Regions from separate parts of the Homo sapiens genome. Here all the other regions are linked to region 2. The links are contacts of gene promoters, found by promoter capture Hi-C in human tissues and cell types (Jung and others, 2019). All regions are on one chromosome and are shown on one strand. Each heading gives the region's core, a stretch centred on a gene start or on the middle of the fragment in contact. The rest is flanking DNA. Distances are from core to core; before and after follow the strand shown.

Region 1 (4,412 bases), core at 15-2,514, 45 kb before region 2:
CTTGTAGTAATAAGGCAGAAGTTAAAAGGAAAAGACAGGTTCCCTGTACTTGGCTGACTCCAAGACCTGCCATAGATAGAGCCCTAGTAGATCCTCGGTAACACGATCTGAAAAGTCAGAGCCGCGAGGAGTGAGTTCCGGAGACTCTCTCAACACAGTAAGCCCCAACAAAGATAAGAGGAAAAAACAACAAATGCCTTTACTACCTTCTCTTTCCCCCTTCCCATTTCTAATTATTCAAGTTTTGTTAAGTTCTTGATTTCCCTTCAGTGCAGCTGCAAGGTCACCAGCTATACTTGCATTGCAAGACCTGTGACAGTTTGATTAGCTGCCTTTGTTCTGCTTCTATAAGCCCTCTTGCCTGCCCCCGAGTTTCATGCCATCAAATTCCCGCCGCGCCATTCAAACTAGCCGACCCCCTTTCAGAAGTGTCTATAAAGTTAAGCCCTGTCTTTGTTCGGGGCTCAGCCTTTGGATTTTCATCTGCTGGGCCTCAGTGCAGTCAATAAATCCTCCTGTTCCACCCATTGGTCTCTCTGTTCTCCTGATTCCCACAACAGTAGTAGGGGACTGCGTTCCCACTTTCCCCTGGTCTTTCATGGTATGAATAATGGACAGCATTTTTTTTTTTCACCTATAGTCGCAGGCTCGGTCTCAGTGATTGTATGCTGTGGTCAGCTGTTTTTGTTTTTGTGAGACCTTGCTTTCTTGTTTACTGTCCTGGGACAGATGTCTGTAGTCACTTGTTTCCTCGGGAGGCAAATTTCAGTCTCTGTCGGGGAGGTCTCCCATGTTAGCTGTGGTGGTACTTGGCAGGCAGAGCTCAGGGATCTAGGCTTCCGTGCTTTGTAGATTGCTCAATGGTCCCCAAGGCCTAGTGGCTTTTAACACCACTTGAAAACCTTAGTGTTTTTCCACTGTCCCCAGAGTCACCTCTTACACAGCCTCTTTTTTTGTTTGTTTGACTTTTTCTCTGAGAGACAGTCTCACTGTATCTTGGTTGAATCGATCCTCCCACCTCAGCCTCTGGAGTAGCAGAGGCACGAGTCACCACAGCCGGCTTATATCTGTTCTTTTTGTTGTTGTGGTGGCTGTCTTGTTTTTTTAAGAGTTGAAGTTTCTCCATGTTGCCCAGGCGACGTGCTCCCGGCGAAGGAGGCCGCCTGCCTGGGGGCGGGCTGGAGCCACGTCCCAGGGCTGGGGGCGCTGTGGGCACTGTGGGTGCCGCACCCACCGCTGCCCGGCACCGGAGGCCAAGAGAGCGTTCCCGACGGGCTCCGCGGATGCCCCGCCGCGTCCTGCTGCCCATCCTGCCCGGGTTGTCGCGGGCCGGGGGCACGACAAGAGGCCGGGGTCTGCCCGGACGCAGCGGCCTGCAGGGCGCAGCTGTCCCTCCACCAGCCGGGGTCCCCTCGCTCAGCCCATGAGACAAATAAATGAATACATAAATAAATAAATAAATAAAAGATGGAGTCTTGCTCTGTCGCCCAGGGTGGAGTGCAGTGGTGCGATCTCGGCTCACTTCAACCTCTGCCTCCCAGGTTCAAGTGATTCTCCTGCCTCAGCCTCCTGAGTAACTGGGATTACAGGTGCATGCCACCACACCCGGCTAATTTTTCGATTTTTAGTAGAGACGGGATTTCATCACGTTGGCCAGGCTGGTCTCGAACCCCTGACTTCAAGTGATCCACCCGCCTTGACCTCCCAAAGTGCTGGGATTACAGGCATGAGCCACTGCACCCAGCCAGAAGTGGGCATTAATATGCAGGCGCCGTATAGGGCAACATCTGTGTGCACCTCTTACAAATCTTAATGCTGTGTATATGAGGGGAGTCCTTCGTGTCCCCCTGGGGATGTTTGAGGTTGCCTGTATGTGTTATGTGTGTGCATATTTTTAAGCTCAGATATGCATAGGCGGATTGACACCTCTGTTTGAATGTATTCCCATGAGCTCATGCCATTAATTCACCATCACAAGAAATATTTACTGAGCGTGAGCCATGCCATTCCACAGACACCATTATAGCACTAAGATACAATGAGGAACAAAAAATCCAGGCTTTCTGAGCTCACACTGGGGTGGGGGCATGGTGGGAAGACACAGGCATCAATGTAATAAACAGAAACCACGACAGGGCTAAGTGTTCTGGAGGAGAGGCGCATGGTGTACTGAGGCCCCTGACGTAGACCCCAGGTGCACCTTTGAGCTTTGCCTGCATGGTTTGGGTTTGTGGGCTCACCTGCATGTGTCCATGCATGCCCCATCTGCGTGCCCGTGCATGGCTGCATCACCCCATGCACACGTGCACTGCCCCTGGGCTTGCCCACATGTGCTGCTCCCCAGGGCGCCAGGCTATCAGCCTACAAGGCATTGTGGGTCTGGGCCCAGCCTGCCACCCCCTACAGAGGCCTGAGCCTGCCTTCCCAGGAGGCCCAGGACTCTCACCCAGGGCCCTTCCCTGCAGCTGGAGCAGGCTCTGTGGCTGCAATCTGGTGAGCTGGAGACGCAAGAGCCCAGGGGGCTGGTACTCCAGAGCGTGGAGTTGCGGAGGCAGCTGCAGGAGGAGCAGGCCTCCTAGTGGCGCAAGCTGCAGGCCTACCTGGAGGGCCAGCAGCGGCAGGCCCAGCTTGTGCAGCGGCTGCAGGGCAAGGTCAGGGCCACCCATTCCTGCTCTTTCCCTCCCACGTGTTCACTTTGCCCTGCCCCCACCCCTGGGGCTCACCATCAGCTCCCAATCCCCAGATTCTCCAGTACAAGAAGAGGTTCTCGGAGCTGGAGCAGCTGTTGGAGAGATCCGGAGAGCTGGAGCAGCAGCAGCTGAGGGTGGGTGCCAGGGTGGGGCAGAGGCAGGCCCTGCCCTCCACCTGCCCAGCCTGATGCTTTAACCTCTGTGCCACCCAGGACGCAGAGCACAGCCAAGACCTGGAGAGTGCCCTCATCTGGCTGGAGGAGGAGCAGCAGGGAGGGCCAGGGCTGGCAGCATGGCCCCCTGGGCGAGCGCCTACTGATCCCCTGTGCCCCATTCAGGAGTGCCAGCCTGGCCCAGGTGAATGCCATGCTCTGAGAACAGCTGGACCAGGCAGGTTTGGCCAACCAGGCTCTGAGTGAGGAGATACGAAAGGTGACCAGTGACTGGACTCGCAGCTGCAAGGAGCTGGAGCAGTGGGAGGCGGCATGGAGGCGCGAGGAGGAGGTGGGCATGGGGGTGCAGGGAGGCCGGCGATATAAGAGGAAGATAATGCACAATTATGCTAGTGAGACTCTCTTTTCCAATAATGTTTGCACTTCTCAATACTACATTTAAAAAGGAAATAGGAGCACTTGAACGGTTAAGTAAGAAGATGAACAAAATTGAACAGAGGAAAAATAACTGTCTGAAGACATGTTGAAAATACATTTAAAGACAGTCTGTCTGAGACAGGAGCTGAGCTGGCCAATCCATCTTTTAAATAATTGAACATCATTCAGGTGTCAAGTATTTGACCTGGAGCCTGGAAGGGGAGGAGAGAGTCCAAAAAAAAGTCAAAATATAAAGAAAAAAAATTAAAGAACTTGTCCCACAAATCAGGCAACCAAGGTCTAAACTTATACCCTCTGCCTGGGTAAATTGTTGTTGCTTCTTTCTGTGACTCTTAAAAGATGTACCATATACCTCATTTAATGACTTTGCTTTATTCATGAAAACTCTATCCCCATGGGAAAAGCTGTTAAATGAAAAAAGATTTCTTTTAAGTAGAAAAATTATGAAAGGATTCCTTCCAACCCTCCATACCCAAAATATCTCAAATGAATTATGTATCTATCAATTATCAATATATATCAAAATATACCAATTAAAAATATCAGTTAAACAATACGTCAATTGAACTATGAAAGCAAGCTTATTTAAGTAGCAAAGAATAACGTGAAGGTTAGTAAGTATAGCTTATACTTAAAATACAATGAATTGAAAGCTCATGGCACTTCATAGAGTAGGAAGAAGAAACTTAATAGAAAGTGGTAGTTGGGCGAGAAGGACTGCAAGGGAGTTATTTGGAAAATGCATTTTTTATTTCTGCATCATTTTGTTCACAAATTATTCCTAATCTTTTGTGAATTTGTGGATTTCTTGAACTCAAACCAGACTTAAAAATACAGTTATAGCACAGAAAAAAATCTTTAATGGCAAAATAAAAGCTAAGCAAGAGAGCCTTTCAAAACACATGAAAATAACACACACATACAAAAAAAAAAGAATAAAGAGATGTACAAGTGACACCTCCTCAACCTTCTCACTTGGTGTACATATGCACAGTAAATTATTTTGGGCTCAGCCAAGCATGGGAGCAATTCAAATAGATCCATATGATATTCTCTGATTAGAAACTCTTGTGGAGTAAGTTGGTGAGTGTATCTTTGCCTAAAACAGTCA
Region 2 (4,071 bases), core at 1,413-3,912:
TGACTGATGGTGTTTAAAGCTCTTCCCGCATTTTCCAGGGGTATAAATCGAGGCAAGTTATTTGGTATTTACTGCATTTTGGCTTCTTCATATGCAAGGGGGTTATGATAATAATACCTACCCCATGAGGACGGTATGAGGACTAAAGAAAATCGTGTATGTATAGCCTCGGCCAATGCCCATAGACACTGAGTACTCAACTAGGTGTTAGCTAGCAGATTTTAAATTTGCATTTATTCGTATAGTTTTTAAGGTAAAATTTACATTCATTGAAATGTTAACTGTATGTTTTTTGACAAATGAATACACTTATATAACTCATATCCCTATCAAGACAGAGACCATTTTTACCACCCAGAAATTTCTCTCATGTAACTTCCCAGTCAATCCCCTGCCAGAGGGAACCACTGCTATGATTTTTTCACCACAGATTAATTTTCCCCTTTCTAGAATTTCAAATAAATGGGAAGGTATGTGCTCTTTTGTGTCATTTATCTTCACAGACTTTGAAATAAAAAAGTTACAATTTTAAACCTTTTGGGCATTTAGTAAAAATCTCCTTCCCACCAGTAGCCACCAGTCACCAGTCTTCATTTCTCTCTCTCTCTCTCTCTCTCTTTGAGACAAGATCTTGCTCTGTCATCCAGGCTGGAATGCAGTGGCATGATCATGGCTCACTGCAGCCTCAACCTCCTGAGCTCAAGCAATCCTCCCACCTCAGCCTCCCAAATAGCTGGGAGTACAGGTGCCCGCCACCACGCCTGGCTAATTTTGCTTGTATTTTATGTAGAGACAGGGTCTCACCAAGTTGCCCAGGTTAGTCTCAAACTCCTGAGCTCAAATGATCTGCGGGCCTTGGCCTCCCAAAGTGCTTGGATTACAGGTATGAGCCACTGTGCCTGGCTCAGTCTTCCTCTCTTAAAGCAACCAATGTTATTAGTTTTATGTGGGCCACCCCATGGCTTATCATTATTAATTCAGGTGTTTATACAAGGCTCTTTGAGAACTCAGTTTTAAAGGTTACCCAAAGCATCCTAAGACAACTCAGCCTAAAACGATATAAAATCAGTTTTAATATAACTGAAGTTTCTACATTCTGACTCCAACTGTCAGATTGTGACATTTTCTCTTTCTCTGACTTTATGCCAAATTTACTTCAACTTCTAGCATCCATCATTCTCATTTATGAACAAATATGTATTTAACAAATGTGGAAATACAAATCATGAAGCAAACAAAACCAAACCCTGGGCTTACGTAGCCGATAGTAAAAAATTCACCAAAATAACCACCCGATTACAGTTTCATGCAATGTGATAGGAGTAAGGGACCACCATAGGGAGGTCAGAAGGTGCTTTTCAGAGGTGGAGACTACAGCTGTTCTCAGAAGAATAGGGGTTAGAAGAACTTTCCAGGCACAGAGCAAAGCATGAGCAAAAGCTCTGTGGAGGCCAGGAAGCTGGTAAATAGGGAATAAAAGAGGCCAGTTTGGCTGGAGCAGAGAGAGCAGAACAGAATTGGTCTGAGTAGTGAGAAGAGATGAAGAAGTGGGCAAGGCGCCTGGCCATTCGGGGCTTGGTTAGTTAGGAGGTTTTGTCTAAGAGAATGGGAAGGTGTTTAAGTGCTTTAGGCTGGGAAGTGACACGGTCACATTATATTTTGGAAAAGCCACTCTGCCTGTTGTGTTGAGATTAGAGAGGCGATAAAGGGGATATGGGTAAACCACAAGAAGACTAGGTCAGTAGTCCCTCGACCCTCACTCCCCAGGTGAAGGCAGCCTAGACTAGGGTGGTGACGGAGGAGATAGAAGAGGACAGATTCAAGGAAAATTTGGAAGGTAAAAACCAGTAGGATTTGCTGACGGATGGAGTATAGGAGGGGAGAGGTAGATTATCAGGGATGTATCTTAGTTTTCTTATACAAGATAGATTCAGTTGCAATGAAATTGTTAACTGAAATTGACTTTAAATAATGGCATGACCTAAAGTTATGCAAACATTTGCCTTAGATAAAATATCAAGTTTTCAAAGTTTTTAGCTGGGTGGACGGCATGGCTTTACTTCCTATTTCTTGGTATTCTAATCCTGTTGAAAAAAAAAGTTTTTCTTTTTCTCAAAGGCTTATTTCAGTGGAAGCCCATCTGCAAAATCTGTTAATAAATTTAAATTAGAAAATAACTACAAGTGCCATTGACACATTGGTTATTCTTTTTGAGAGTGACCTAAGGCCACCTCTGGGAGAGCTGGGGGCTCTTCTGAAGCCTGCCCGACTGCACCGCGTGCCCGTGCCTGGAAGTCAGATTCGGGGCGGTGCGGCAGCGCGAGGCCTGCAGTCCTAAGCGCGGGGTCGCTCCAGCCCCAGAGGGGGTGTGTCTCCTGCCTCTTCAACCTGGCAGGGGCTGTTCAAGTGGCCGGGGAAACCAGCGATTTGGAGGGTCGAGGGCTGGTGCTTTGAAAGACAGGCGGAGGGGAGAGAGGGATTTCCCCGTCCCCGCTGCACTCGGTCCTTCCCCTGGGTTACTCCTTTCCTCCGCCTGCGCGGCCCCTAACCTGCTCGAACCCGTTGTGCAGAAGAGGCCGCCGGGTCCCTTTAAGGCCCCGCCGCGCCTGCGCCTTGGGTTATCCTGACACGCCCATCGGGATCCTGAGGAGCCAGTGGGCTGCAGGCGCAGGCGCAGGCGAGGGGCTGGGTGGCGGTTGAGACAGCGGCGGTACTGGGAGGCGTAGGTGAGGGTCGCGAGGCTGCCCGAGCTTCTGAGCGAGCGCGGTGCTTTTGGGAACGCGGGACGGGCGATCTGCGGCGCCAGGAGCTGGGCCGAGGCGCGGCGGCGCGGCTGCCGGCTGCCCTGTGAATGGGAAGTTACGCGAAGTCCACCCAGCGTTTCTGAGGTGAGGGCGCCGCGCCAGGCTGGGCGGGCGGTGAATCCGGGACCCGCGGGCGCACAGCTGGGTCGAGGCGCGGCCGTGGCAAGTTTTGTTGCGCGAGCGCGGGGGCGGGTGGGGGCTGTGGGGGGTCGTGCACCGCCGGGGCCTGAGTTCCCCGCGCTGGATTCTTCGCCTGCCGCTGCCGCCCGCAGCCCAACTCTCGTGGGCGCTGGGGAAGAAACTCGCTGGCGGGTGTTCTGTGGCATCCCAGGGGGTGGAGGGACGGAGCAGCTTCGGGGGCACGTCCTCCTATATCCTGTAGAGGACACTGACCCCGCACCCCACCCTCCAGGCCAGAAATCCGTTCCCTCTGCGGACCTGAGAGGCGAGCGCGCTCGCGCCCCTGACTTGCAAAGTTGGGGTCTTTACTGGCCTCCGGGCTTCTGCTCCTGGCGGTGTCTCCAGGCTGGTGATGGGCAAGCCAGGTGTGCCAGCTCCAGGATGCACATGAGCAGCATTTGTAGCCATCACTGAATCACCTCCTGACTAGCGGGGCAAGCCTCAAATGAACCGCAGGATTTCGGGTAGATTGGATTGTGGGGTTGCTGTTTGCACTCCAAAGAGTTGCTGTGATTTCCCTGCGTCTGGCTGGCTGGCTGGCTTCTTAGATCATCTCATGTGGCGTCCTTTCAGCGGAGAGTTAACCAAGACGTTTGGCCTGGCTTCCTTGTTTTCCTCCTATCTTTTGCTTAGAGCTGCTTTCGAAAAGAAGTCTTTTCTGGCAGTGGTATCTTTTCTTTGGGTTACAGTGTTGTTCATCCTTTCTTTGCCAAAAGAATGAATCCCAGTGCTTCAGGAAGTTAAAGAAAAGATCTGCTGGTAGTGTTCTGAGCTGATATGCGTTAGTAGCTTTTTGTTTTTAAATTCTATTGGTAAAATTTCACTAGTGAACCAGAAGCTACTTTTTCTATTCTGAAATGCTAGCTTTAAGATTTCTGAGAACTTTGCGTCAAAGAAATCTTGGAAAAGTTACTGAAGTATACAGAAGTTCACAATTTTACATGTGCAGGTGGCCCGGGCGCAGTGATCACACCTGTAATCCCAGCACTTTGGGACGCCAAGGTGGGTAGATCACTTGAGCCCAGGATTTCCAGACCAGCCTGGGCAATGTGGCAAAACCCTTTCTCTACTAAAAATACAGAAGTTA
Region 3 (4,454 bases), core at 1,000-3,499, 50 kb after region 2:
ATATTCCTGCTCCAAGTGGCCATTACTGAGCTGAGAGATGTCATTGCTGCAGTGAGGACCTATAGGCACATGTAGGTTGAATGAAACTCTAGTTCTAACTGGAAGCCCAGACATGGGATGGGTCAGTGAGCATGGCTCTCTTCCTAGTCTCAGGCCATGCCTGTGGCACTCTGATTCTACTCTCATGACATTGGACCTGGGCAGATGTGACAAATTCAGAGAACTATGATTTTGACTCAAGGGTTTGTAGATTTCCTTTTTCACTCTAATTTCAGTGTCTAAAGTCCTCACAACCATGAACAATCTGAGTATTTGATGAGACAGGGCTAAATATTGCAGTTTTTCTCCTAGAAATCATTTGAGGGTATTTGCTTTAAATTGATTGGAAAAATATGGCATAACTGTTTGCACAAACTCGGGACAAATGATATTGGGATAACGATCTACTAGAATAGGGACATTTTACCCACAGTTTCTGGGAGAAAAACCGAGGAATTTCTATCATGACCAGCCTTCAGGCCTCCTGAAATATATCTCTCACAGTCTCCTATTCTTATGCTGAGGAGCCTGAGGTCCCTGTGTGAGGGTTAGACAGTGGATTGTTATGTGTGTAGGGGAATCAGCTTAATGTGTCTGTCCATGTCTGAATTTATTGCAGAAATTGAAAAGAAGGGGAAGGGGAAGAAAAGAAGGGGAAGAAGATCAACGAAGAAAAGAAGGAGAAGGGGAAGAAAAGAAGGGGAAGAAGATCAAAACCCACCATGCCCCAGGTAACTTTCAGCAATTGTGGATGCTTAATTCTGTGTTAACACCTGGAGGCAACAGATTGAGGGAAACCAGAGTGTGTTTGATTTCATGTTTTCAACGAAGGCTGAATTACTCCTACTGTCATTGCTGTTGGTTTTCATTGCAGTAGATGTTTAGGTTTCCATTTCTTCCTCCCCTTATCATTTACTAACGTACCATAGGATGACCATACTTCAAAAGCTGTACTCTCATGGCCACTGCATCGAATTTTGAGCATATTTTATGGAAAACTATTGAGCTCACTCTTTTCATGATCGCAGTGTGCTGTGTGTCATGAGGGCACTAACTCAGAGTGTCCTTTTACTCCCTTACCAGTATGTCACCTGGCCAATTCACTAGCTCACTTTCTCTCTGTCTCTGTCTCTGTCTCTGTCTCTCTGTCTTTCTCTTTCATTGTTTTCTACCTGGCCCTTTTCTATCCCAACATAAAGGCAATAATTTTTTTTTTTTACCTCATTAATGGATCTAATGGATCTATCCTTTTCTTTTCTTACCACTTCCTTACGTTACTTCTGAAATCTAGTGGGGCTCTGTGGTGTCTGATTTTCCCTGGCTGCTTCTTTAGTTTTGTCTGCTTTTCCAGGCTCAGCGGCATGCTGATGGAAGTGGAAGAGCCTGAAGTCTTGCAGGACTCACTGGATAGATGTTATTCGACTCCGTCAATGTACTTTGAACTACCTGACTCATTCCAGCACTACAGAAGTGTGTTTTACTCATTTGAGGAACAGCACATCAGCTTCGCCCTTGACGTGGACAATAGGTTTCTTACTTTGATGGGAACAAGTCTCCACCTGGTCTTCCAGATGGGAGTCATATTCCCACAGTAAGCAGCCCTTACTAAGCCGAGAGATGTCATTCCTGCAGGCAGGACCTATAGGCACGTGAAGATTTGAATGAAACTATAGTTCCATTTGGAAGCCCAGACATAGGATGGGTCAGTGGGCATGGCTCTATTCCTATTCTCAGACCATGCCAGTGGCACCCTGTGCTCAGTCTGAAGACAATGGACCCAAGTTAGGTGTGACACGTTCACATAACTGTGCAGCACATGCCGGGAGTGATCAGTCAGACATTTTAATTTGAACCACTTATCTCTGGGTAGCTACAAAGTTCCTCAGGGATTTCATTTTGCAGTCATGTCTCTGAGCTTCTATACCTGCTCAAGGTCAGTGTCATCTTTGTGTTTAGCTCATCCAAAGGTGTTACCCTGGTTTCAATGAACCTAACCTCATTCTTTGTATCTTCAGTGTTGAATTGTTTTAGCTGATCCATCTTTAACACAGGAGGGATCCTTGGCTGAGGATTGTATTTCAGAACCACCAACTGCTCTTGACAATTGTTAACCCGCTAGGCTCCTTTGGTTAGAGAAGCCACAGTCCTTCAGCCTCCAATTGGTGTCAGTACTTAGGAAGACCACAGCTAGATGGACAAACAGCATTGGGAGGCCTTAGCCCTGCTCCTCTCGATTCCATCCTGTAGAGAACAGGAGTCAGGAGCCGCTGGCAGGAGACAGCATGTCACCCAGGACTCTGCCGGTGCAGAATATGAACAACGCCATGTTCTTGCAGAAAACGCTTAGCCTGAGTTTCATAGGAGGTAATTACCAGACAACTGCAGAATGTAGAACACTGAGCAGGACAACTGACCTGTCTCCTTCACATAGTCCATATCACCACAAATCACACAACAAAAAGGAGAAGAGATATTTTGGGTTCAAAAAAAGTAAAAAGATAATATAGCTGCATTTCTTTAGTTATTTTGAACCCCAAATATTTCCTCATCTTTTTGTTGTTGTCATTGATGGTGGTGACATGGACTTGTTTATAGAGGACAGGTCAGCTCTCTGGCTCAATGATCTACATTCTGAAGTTGTCTGAAAATGTCTTCATGATTAAATTCAGCCTAAACGTTTTGCCGGGAACACTGCAGAGACAATGCTGTGAGTTTCCAACCTTAGCCCATCTGCGGGCAGAGAAGGTCTAGTTTGTCCATCAGCATTATCATGATATCAGGACTGGTTACTTGGTTAAGGAGGGGTCTAGGAGATCTGTCCCTTTTAGAGACACCTTACTTATAATGAAGTATTTGGGAGGGTGGTTTTCAAAATTAGAAATGTCCTGTATTCCAATGATCATCCTGTAAACATTTTATCATTTATTAATCATCCCTGCCTGTGTCTATTATTATATTCATATCTCTACGCTGGAAACTTTCTGCCTCAATGTTTACTGTGCCTTTGTTTTTGCTAGTGTGTGTTGTTGAAAAAAAAAACATTCTCTGCCTGAGTTTTAATTTTTGTCCAAAGTTATTTTAATCTATACAATTAAAAGCTTTTGCCTATCACTCTGGACTGTTGGATTGTTTTTTACATTCAGTGTTATAATCTTTTGTTATGCTGATTGGTTTTGGTGGGTACTGATGTGAATTAATAAAAACATTTCCATTTCCCTGTTTATTTTCTAATCTCTTCCACCTTGTAGGCTATGTTTACCATATGTAGCAGAATGCATTTACTCCATTTCTTGGTTCTAGATATTTATATTCTTTGTGAGAGTGTGTGTGTGTGTGTCTGTGTGTGCCTCTGGCATTTAGGAAGGGTTGTGTAGCTCATGTTTGATATTGATTAAAAATGTTTCATAGTTTTCCCCCCTTTGAACTAGACACACTTCTAATATTTGGTTTATACATTTTAAATTATGACTTTCAACGTCAAATATTTCCATATGACAGTCAGTTACATGATGTGTTTTCTTTTTCCTACCTCCTTTACCTGCCACTTCTCATAATGGTATTTGAACCTAAACATATGCCAGTGACATTCTGTGGTTGTCATCTTGCCCACACCTTGGTTTTTGGTTTAGATCCACAATTAAATATATTAATGCTCATGAGCTGTTCAAAAGTGAATGTCACAGTCATCACTTGCTGAGTGGTACTCATCCTTAACAGAGTCCTCATGAGGGAATCAGGTCTCGCTGAGTTTAGCATGTTTAATAATCTTCCTCGTGGTCTTGATACATGGATCGCATTACTGGATATAAGGTGTTTGCCCAAAATGATTTTTCTTGCATTTTTAGGAGCTATTGTCTTCCTTGCGGGACATACATGCTGTATGTTCTCATTGTGGGATTCTATTTTGTTCTACCAGGACCTATAATTTCTGCCAGTTACTTCATTTGTTCTCTTCACCATGAGTCTCCAGAGGATGCTTCCTTTGTCCATGCCTCCCCATCTCCCAGCAATTCTGCGTTTCCAAGACTGGCACCTCTGGTCCTCTGCATGGTGAAGCCCCTTCCTTTCAATTCCCCAGTAGCCAGTGCTCTAATCCACCAGGTCTCAGGCATGATCTGTGTTTCTCCACATGCTCTTTCTGAGGATAGTTTTACCTGTGTTCTGTCATGAACAGGCCCTCCCTGCTGTCCTGGCCTCGATTTGCTTAGTGTTTCCTGCTCCCTCTGCCCTTGTGTGGCTCCCAGACCAAGTGAAACAAAATCACCTGAGGGCCACAGTGTTCCCTAGCCCTGGCGTTTAGGGGCAGGGTTATGGGTGGGATTTTTGACTCTCTAAGTTAACGCCTAGGGCTTTGAAGTGTCTGTTGAGAAATTCAGCTGTTATCATCCTAGGTGGACTTGCTCTCTCCTGTCCTC

Evidence for each region. The method cuts DNA at HindIII sites, captures the fragments that hold promoters and counts their contacts. A contact is called where the count stands out against the background at its distance.
Region 1: a contact is called between a fragment that was not itself captured here and the fragment with the promoter of NBPF1 in region 2, in 1 of the 25 tissues and cell types used here (psoas muscle).
Region 3: a contact is called between a fragment that was not itself captured here and the fragment with the promoter of NBPF1 in region 2, in 2 of the 25 tissues and cell types used here (aorta and neural progenitor cells).

The regions. Positions count from the first base shown.
Region 1 is chr1:16,655,286-16,659,697 of GRCh38, reverse strand. No RefSeq gene overlaps it. Among named protein-coding and RNA genes, the nearest start is that of RNU1-3, 9.5 kb to the left of the region's middle. RefSeq lists an enhancer at 1,968-2,776. The HindIII fragment of the contact is 8,663 bases long and covers 1-4,412 here.
Region 2 is chr1:16,612,155-16,616,225 of GRCh38, reverse strand. It overlaps NBPF1 (NBPF member 1), which reads left to right and starts at 2,662. Exons shown (of 18, transcript NM_001405701.2): 1 at 2,662-2,888. RefSeq lists an enhancer at 1,861-2,818. The HindIII fragment of the contact is 9,860 bases long and covers 1-4,071 here.
Region 3 is chr1:16,561,123-16,565,576 of GRCh38, reverse strand. It overlaps NBPF1 (NBPF member 1), which reads left to right. Exons shown (of 18, transcript NM_001405701.2): 17 at 659-770; 18 at 1,391-3,154. The coding sequence ends at 1,634. Among named protein-coding and RNA genes, the nearest start is that of TRG-CCC1-1, 17 kb to the right of the region's middle. RefSeq lists an enhancer at 424-1,301. The HindIII fragment of the contact is 4,147 bases long and covers 176-4,322 here.